Linked DNA regions of Homo sapiens: region 2 is linked to region 1. Evidence: promoter capture Hi-C in human tissues and cell types (Jung and others, 2019). All regions are on one chromosome and are shown on one strand. The core of a region is centred on a gene start or on the middle of the fragment in contact, and the rest is flanking DNA. Distances in the headings are between cores, read along the strand shown.

Evidence for each region. The method cuts DNA at HindIII sites, captures the fragments that hold promoters and counts their contacts. A contact is called where the count stands out against the background at its distance.
Region 2: a contact is called between a fragment that was not itself captured here and the fragment with the promoter of GPR158 in region 1, in 1 of the 25 tissues and cell types used here (dorsolateral prefrontal cortex).

Annotation. Positions count from the first base shown.
Region 1 is chr10:25,173,515-25,178,023 of GRCh38, forward strand. It overlaps GPR158 (G protein-coupled receptor 158), which reads left to right and starts at 1,487. Exons shown (of 11, transcript NM_020752.3): 1 at 1,487-2,808. The coding sequence starts at 1,907. GPR158-AS1 (GPR158 antisense RNA 1) reads right to left here and starts at 2,762. Exons shown (of 2, transcript NR_027333.2): 1 at 2,162-2,762. The HindIII fragment of the contact is 11,687 bases long and covers 1-4,509 here.
Region 2 is chr10:25,002,155-25,006,387 of GRCh38, forward strand. All of the region lies in intron 1 of ENKUR (enkurin, TRPC channel interacting protein), which reads right to left. It also overlaps a transcript of THNSL1 not described here. Among named protein-coding and RNA genes, the nearest start is that of ENKUR, 12 kb to the right of the region's middle. The HindIII fragment of the contact is 8,073 bases long and covers 1-4,233 here.

The DNA of each region.
Region 1 (4,509 bases), core at 237-2,736:
GTAGTGTTCTGGGTGCTCAAGGTACCTCAGTGACCAATGCAGACAAAGATTTTTGCTCTTTTGGAGCTTACATTCCAGTCCTTAAGTATTTTCTCAATAGGAAGGATGACATGAAATAGTACAGTGAATCTAAGCAGTGCCTGCTTAGAATGCCATGAGGGACATTTTTGTTAGTTGGGAATTAAAGTAAGTTGGATATTTTCTATTTGTGTCTTTCTTGGGGAATTTGAAAATAGAGGTGCATATGGAAAGTGGAGCTAGCTGTGCAAAACACTACTTTTCTGGTACCAGTCTACTTTTGGAGTGTCAGAAGACACTTAAATTCTCTAATAAGCGTCAAAACATCAATTAGATTGTGTTAAGAAATTTACCAATAATTTGGGGGACTTGGCATACTTGCTCAGTTCTTCTTTCTTCTGCTGGGATATCCCAACCTTTAGCTAAATAGAAGTCTTAGTTCTTATCTCTCAATTCCAGGAACTCCCAGTCAGGATGATTTCCCTTCTCACTCAACACAGGCTCCTTCTCATTCTCCCAGAGCTCATGAGTCCTCCCCCTTGCTCTCTCCCTTACACATCTTTACTTGCATACATTTTTACACGTTCCCCTCCATTCTGGCCCCCAAGCAGAGATTCCTTAAATATGACTTTTTTTTCTCTCCTTAAAGCACAGCTGGTAGATTTCTCCATTACTCCCTCAGCTAAGATGAGCCTAGACAAGTATGTTTTAATCATTTCTTTAACTGACAACAAGAAAGATGATTTGATAATTTGCCTAAAATGAGCAGATGCTCAGGAGGACACGTCTCCATCCTATGTCCCTTCTGTCTAATTTCACCTAGAAATGAAAACTACTCCCTTCTCCCTCTTTTCCAGGCAAAAGGCTGATTTAACTAAGCATGCAAGACGCCAACACCCTCCCCCTCAGTACGTCCAAGTTTCCTTCGCTCTGAGCCACCGAATCTCTGCTTCTCCCCCCTCTGCCGCCCACCCTACGCCACCCACGCAGGTTTCCGAGTCATCCGGAACGCGAGTGGGTGCGAGGACTCGGCAGGCTGCCTCCCGCGCCCCCGCCGCCCGCGGGCCGCCTCGGGTTCAGCACTGGACAGCTCCCTCCCCGGCCCCACAAATGGCAGTCGGCTGATTGACAGAGGAGCCGACCAAACAGGGAACAAGACGACTTGCAGCCGCCCTACAAGGGTTTGGTTGCGGCCAAGCTGCCTCTTTAAACTGGCTTTCCTCCCCCGAGGAGGGAGCAGGGAGAGAGGGTGGAGTGTGGTTTGCGGCCAAACCTAAAGGCTGCAATTAACCAGCCGCCCGGCCTTCGCTACTCCGGACAGACGAACGTCTTAAAGGACGTCTTCGCTCCTCGGGAGTCGCGGCTGCGCTCGCGGTGCGGGTCTGGGCGCGCGCCCCGCGCCTCCGGGCGAAGCGGTCGAGGAGGAGCCAGTGCCGGGAGGCGGGAACGACCTGCGGCGGGTGAGACTATGGAGCAGCGTCTTCGGCGGCCGCGGCGGCAGCAGCAGCAGCAGCTTCTGAACGCGCCTCAATGAGAGCGGCGGTGGCGGCAGCCGGGCCGAGAGACGGACTCGGGCTGACTCCAGCCGCTGGGAGCGCGAGGCCATGTAACCCGCTCGGCTCCAGGCTGCGAGGTGCGTAATCCCCAGCCGGCCCCTCGCGCAGCGGGCACGGCCAGCGCTGCCACAGGTGACTTGATTTCTGCGACGGTAGCTTAGCCACCCGGGGCCAATCTCGAAACATTCTTATTTTCAAGTCCTTTGGACTGGGTGCCATCTGGAGAAGGGGGAAGACTCCTCGAAAAAGTCTGACTGTTGAGAAACTGACGATCCAAATTTAAAAAGTGATTCCCCCCCCTCCCGTTCCCTCCTCTTCTCTCTGGGAGGCAGATGGGAGCCATGGCTTACCCCTTACTCCTCTGCCTCCTGCTTGCTCAGCTGGGATTGGGAGCTGTTGGCGCCAGCCGCGACCCCCAAGGACGGCCGGATTCCCCTCGAGAGAGGACCCCGAAGGGGAAGCCGCACGCCCAGCAGCCGGGTCGAGCCTCTGCCTCGGACTCCTCGGCTCCCTGGAGCCGCTCCACCGATGGCACCATCTTGGCGCAGAAACTCGCCGAGGAGGTGCCCATGGACGTGGCCTCTTACCTCTACACCGGGGACTCCCACCAGCTGAAGCGAGCCAACTGCTCCGGCCGCTACGAGTTGGCGGGCCTGCCGGGGAAGTGGCCAGCCCTGGCCAGCGCGCACCCCTCCTTGCACCGGGCGCTGGACACACTGACACACGCCACCAACTTCCTCAACGTGATGCTGCAGAGCAATAAGTCGCGGGAGCAGAACTTGCAGGACGACCTGGATTGGTACCAGGCGCTGGTGTGGAGCCTTCTGGAGGGCGAGCCCAGCATCTCCCGGGCGGCCATCACCTTCAGCACCGATTCGCTGTCCGCACCGGCCCCACAGGTCTTCCTCCAGGCCACGCGCGAGGAGAGCCGCATCCTGCTCCAAGACCTGTCCTCCTCCGCACCCCACCTGGCCAACGCCACTCTGGAGACCGAGTGGTTCCACGGCCTCCGGCGCAAGTGGAGGCCCCACTTACACCGCCGCGGCCCCAATCAGGGGCCCCGGGGCCTGGGCCACAGCTGGCGGCGCAAGGACGGGCTCGGCGGGGACAAGAGCCACTTCAAGTGGTCTCCGCCTTATCTGGAGTGCGAGAACGGGAGTTACAAGCCCGGGTGGCTGGTTACTCTTTCCTCTGCCATCTACGGGTTGCAGCCTAACCTGGTCCCGGAATTCAGGTAGGGAGGGCCGGGGGGCAGGGGGGAAGGCAAAAGCGAAGCTTTCCTTCCGGTCTTGTGGGTGGGTGCACGTGTGAGGAAGGAACCCTTGGCTGTGACGCGAACGCTTCTCACCCTCAGAGTAGAGACCCGGGCTGAGGGACACCCCACGCGGGCGCGGGTGCTTGGGGGCAAGAAGCGCCCCACGCCCGTCAGCTTCCGGCGCTCGGCGAAAGCCATTCATTCTCTCGGACCAGTTTCCCCGCACTGGGCGAGGGACAGGCAGCCCTTGGCAGGACGGAGACACCCCCGCTGCTCTGTGCTTCCCTCCAATTGTCCGGAGAGCAGGGAGGGGCGTTCCCCACCGGGGGGCGATGCGACAACTTGGCGAGCGCCGGGTGTGTCCGCGGAGTGGCAAGCCTCAGATGAGAGGCGAAAAGGGAGCAGGAGGAACAGAGAGTTCCTTGTTTCTGCCACTTTGGGGTAGCCTCTGCCTGCTTCCTACGTGTGCAGTTGGGGGCACCGGTCTGTTGTTAGTCAGAGCTTATAATTAAAACTGTGCCATCTCCTCGCAGTTCCGGCCCCTCAGCAGTGAGTCAGTCCCAGCAGCTAGCTGTCTCTGGGATCCAGACTTTGCAGCTTGGTCAGGGTGCTCCTTCTACCGGTCTCCCCTCTCCCCGCAATTGATCTTTCCTTCCTCGGTGGCCTTTTCCTCCTCTTCCCTGTCTTAGGCATACTTAAGGGTTCTCCAGCCCTTCACACACTCACATGATTTATAAAAGGACCTAGTTATATTCGGGAGGGAGGCATCAGTTGTGACTGAATTCACTCAAGGAGGCTGGAGGAAACTTAAGGGAGTCTGTACTTCCTGTCTCAAACTATAGCATTTGAGGGAAGCAGAGAATTTGCAAATTAACAGGTTTTAACTTCTGCCTGGGAAGTGCCTGACCTTTGAGGCGGGGAATTTCTAGAAGCAACCTTTAAGAGTAGATGTGAGGAAGGAACTGAAAGAGTAGTTACACCAAAGAGGGCTTAGGAGAGGGCCCAAGATGAACTGAGATCTTCCCTTAGTCCCATGAGGGAAGGCTCTGGAAAGAGGGTCTTGGGGGCTGAGGTTGCTTTTGTACTTTTTGGGAACCTGGGCAGGACTGAGAAACCTTTGTGTGTGGATTATTTATTATTTTTTAAATACCCTGTCACAGCAAGGTCAGGATGCTGACCTGCTGAAAGATGCCAGATCAAGTACTGGGTGGGCAAGTGGGAAAGGTCAGAAGGCTTGTTTGTCTTGGTACTGCCATTTACTGCTGAATGACCTCAACCAAGTTGCTTAACCTCTCTGGGCCTCAGCTACTTATCTGTCCAGTGAGGGAGTTGAACTAGACAGTCTCTAGGGAGCCATCCAGTTATCAAGTTTTGTAGCTTTTAATGTTGGCAACACTTGCAAAGGCATAAAGGATAATAAACCCCTTTGTCTGATTCTGTATGACCATATTAAGTGCATGTGTGTGTGTCTTTGCCTGTGTTTCTATCTCTTTTAAAGGTCTTGTCTTAAACCAGACTAACTCTTTTCTACTTTCAAGATAATCTCATTTCCTCCTAATTCCTGCAGGATCCTATTAGTAAGAGCTGAGCCCAGCTTTGAATCTTTGCCATACTGTTTGCTCAGAAGAGGAAAGACCAGCAGATGCTATTCACTGCCAGCAAACTGTAGCCTTTAAATGA
Region 2 (4,233 bases), core at 1,572-4,071, 170 kb before region 1:
TCAATGCCCTGTGTATTAGGAGGTGTCTCCACCTGGGCTGGTGGGAACACGAACTTTACCTGGCACTACTGCTTTCTGTTGGTTATTTACTTGGCCTTGGTTGTTTCATTACATACATGTGCTATCAACCAAAGACTTTAGGGAACTCCTTGTTCATATTTCCACAGTCCTCTCTCTATGCAACTCTCCTCTCTGGTACTCTGTGCTGTGAATTCTAGCAGCTTTGGCCTTTGCAAACTCTGAATTCTGTCTCCTTAACTCAGGGAGACTCCTAGGCTTTGTTTTAATTTTTTCTTCTGGATCTTGGCCTGGAATTTCTCTCCAGAGAGTATGCTGGGGCAGTCGTAGGGCTTGCCTCATTTGTTTCTCTTCTTTTATAGATGACCACTCTATGTTGTTTATTGTTCAGAGTCTGATAACTGTTGTTTCATATATTTTTTTTCTGGTGTTCTAGTTGTTTAAGTCAAGAAGATAAATCCCATTTTTGGTTGAAAGCAGTTCAGCTATACCGCTTTTGTAACAACTTGTATTATCTTCTTCCTTATGTAGATAAATTTGTTTGAAGAAACATTATTGTTTTTTTCCTTTTAGGAGCCTTGCCTCAATCCTGAACTTAAAGGCTGGGAATCAATTATAGTCCAAACTGAATGAGCTCATTAGATAGTTTCAAGAAATAATGTTCAAACCAAATCTGTGCCTTAAAATGCCCACAGAAGTTGGGGCTGGCAGATATGGTCTCGTGATTAATAAGATAATTTCATTTGGGGTAAAAAAAAAAGGTGTCTTTACTTCCACCTCTTTTAAATTTGTAAACCCATGATTCAATATATTTTTGTGTAGGTATATGAACTGAAAGCCTGTCCATCTATTATAGAAAATAAGATACTCTATTTTATATAAATGATATTTTCCAAATTACAAAAATAACATTAAGTAAATTAAAATCTATGTCTCCTCCATCTCTCCAATAAATTTTCCAGAATAAATTCAATTTCAGTGTTTCTTTAATTAATTAATTAATTAATTAATTTATTTATTTATTCATTTATTTTTTGCCCGCTCTGTTGCCCAGGCTGGAGTGCAGTGGTGTTGCCCAGGCTGGAGTGCAGTGGTGTGATCTTAGCTCACTGTAACCTCTGTCTCCTGGGTTCAAATGATTCTCATGCCTCTGCCTCCTGAGTAGCTGGGACTACAGGCATGCACCGCCATGCCTGGCTAATTTTTGTATTTTTAGTAGAGACAGGGTTTTACCACGTTGGCCAGGCTGGTCTGGAAATCCTGGCCTCAAGTGATCCACCTGCCTTGGCCTTCCAAAGTGCTGGGATAACAGATGTGAGCCACTGCGCCAAGCCTGTGTTTCTATTTCTGTAAGAATTGCAACTAGATTTTTAAAACTTAATATAGTGTGATATCTTAATACACATAAATCTTATTCTTTCTGTTAAATAGCTGCATTTTACTCCATTTTCTGAATGGTGTGGTTTTATTACAAAGATCTAGTGGTGACTTTATTAGATAATTGGCTCTATTTTCTTTTAAGTTCAGGGATACATGTGCAGATTTGTTATATAGGTAAACATGCATTACGGGGGTTTGTTGTACAGATTATTTCATCACCCAGGTATTAAACCTAGTACTCATTACTTGTTTTTCCTGATCCTCTCCCTCCTTCCACCCCCAGCCTCCGATAGGCCCCAGGGTGTGTTGTTCCCCTCCATGTGTTCATGTGTTATCACCATTTAGCTCTCACTTTAAGTGAGAATTTAGCAGTATTTTGGTTTCATGTTCCTGTGTTAGTTTGCTAAGGATAATGGCCTCCAGCCAGTATTACTGCAGCACTATTGTGTGGGACTCTGAACTCTGGAGACTAGGCTGTGTTAGAAAGTTATCCAAATTATTTATTGGATAATTTTTACATGTACACATCCATGTCCCTGCAAAGAATACGATCTCATTCTTGTTTTATGGCTGAATAGTATCCCATGGTGTATATGTATCACCTTTTCTTTATCCAGTCTATCACTGATGGGCATTTAGGTTGATTCCATGTCTTTGCTACTGTGAATAGTGCTGCAATGAACCTAGGCATGCATGTGTCTTTATAATAGAACAATTTCTATTCCTTTGGGTATATATCCAGTTATGGGATTGCTGGGTTGAATGGTATTCCCATCTTTAGGTCTTTGAGGAATTGCCACACTGTCTTCCACAATGGTTGAACTAATTTACACTCCCATCAGCAGTGAGTAAGTGTTCCTTTTTCTCCACAACCTCACCAGTATCTTTTGAATAATGGCCATTCTGATTGGTGTGAGATGGTATCTCATTGTAGTTTTGATTTGCATTTCTCTAATGATCAGTGATGTTAAGCTTTTCTTCATATGCTTGTTGGTCACATGTATGTCTTCTTTTGAGAAGTGTCTGTTCATTTCCTTTGCCAACTTTTTAATAGCATTATTTGTTTTGTTCTTGTAAATTTGTTTAAGTTTCTTATAGATGCTGGATATTAGACCTTTGTCAGATGCATAGTTTGCAAAAATTTTCTCCCATTCTGTAGGTTGTTTACTCTGTTGATGGTTTCTTTTCCTGTGCAGAAGCTCTTTACTTTAATTAGATCCCATATGTCAATTTTTGCTTTTGTTGCCACTGCTTTTGGCATCTTCATCATTAAATCTTTGCCCGTGCCTATGTCCTGAATGGTATTGCCTAGGTTGTCTTCCAGGATTTTTATAGTTTTGGGTTTTACGTTTAAGTCTTTAATCCATCTTGAGTTAATTTTTGTATATGGTGAGAGGAATGGGTCCAGTTTCATTCTTCTGCATATGGCTAGCCAGTTCTCCCAGCACCATTTATTGAATATGAAGTCCTTCCCATTGCTTGTGTTTGTCGGGTTTGTCAAGGATCAGATACTTGTAAGTGGGCAGTCTTATTTCTGGGTTCTCTATTCTGTTCTATTGATCTCTGTGTCTGTTCTTGTACCAGTACCATGCTGTTTTGGTTACTGCAGCCCTGTAGTATAGTTTGAAGTCAGGCAGTGTCATGGATAATTGGCTCTATTTTCTATTTATTATTAGAATTATGAGATATGGGCTAAAGATAAGTTATTCTCAAACTAAAATTGTCATCTTCAGAAAACATACCAAAACTATATTTTACCATACAGTTAAGATTAGACTTACTAATCACCATATAGTAAGTCCCATCATTAAGACAGTAAATTTACATTTTAAAAACCATTTATTTCAAAGGGCACACAAGGAAATGATATTACTCAAAAAGCTGGGATAGTTTGAAAGTGCTTAATTGAGATTTTTTTTTCCTCTAATGGGCAAAATAGGCATCAAGGATTAACAACTTTTCTTTTTCAATTTTTCCCAGTATTACTGCAGCATTACACTATCGTGTGGAACTCTGAACTCTGGAGCCTAGGCTGTGTTAGAAAGCTATCCAAATTATTTCTTGAGGAGAATTTTTACACGTACACAGATATCCCTTAAGTCCACCTACAGACTTGAAATGAGAGTGTTCAATTCAGGCTCATGTCTATATCAAGTAACTAAATTTTCAAAAATGGATGCCAATTCTTCCCCCAGCCTGGTTGTCTGTCATAGCTCTGATCTGCACTTACTTGACAACACAGGCATATGTCATTGAGTATAATGATGATCTTAGTGCTGCTCAGTACCTCTCACAAGCTGTTGAGTGAAATAATATGTGGAATATCAAAAGAGTATGTAGTTAATGTATTCATCTACATCTGTGCTGTGTAATATAGCCACATGTGGATATTGAGCACTTGAAATGTGGCTGGTGCCACATGCGGAAATCATAGTATTTTAGATAAATTGCATTAAATAAACTACATAAAGTAAATTTTTCGTTATTTCTACTTTTTAAAAGTGATTAGAAAAATTTAAATTACATACATGACTCTCATTACATTTCTATTAGACTGTGCTGATCTAGATAGCAGGAAAATCTATCCTTGAATTAAACTATGCAGTCAGATAGCTGCACACCCAGAGCACAACACATTGCTGTCTCCAAAACTGCTTTTGTTTAGTTATGTTATCGTACTGGAACACTGGTCTATAATGAGGGCAACAGTAGACTTATGAAACTCAGCAGATTTAATGTAGAAGTGCGGCTGAAATCTTTATTGTATTACACACATGGTCTCCTCTCTCCGTGAATCCTGGAGGAAGTGTATTTGTGGCAGCACACCGAGAACAT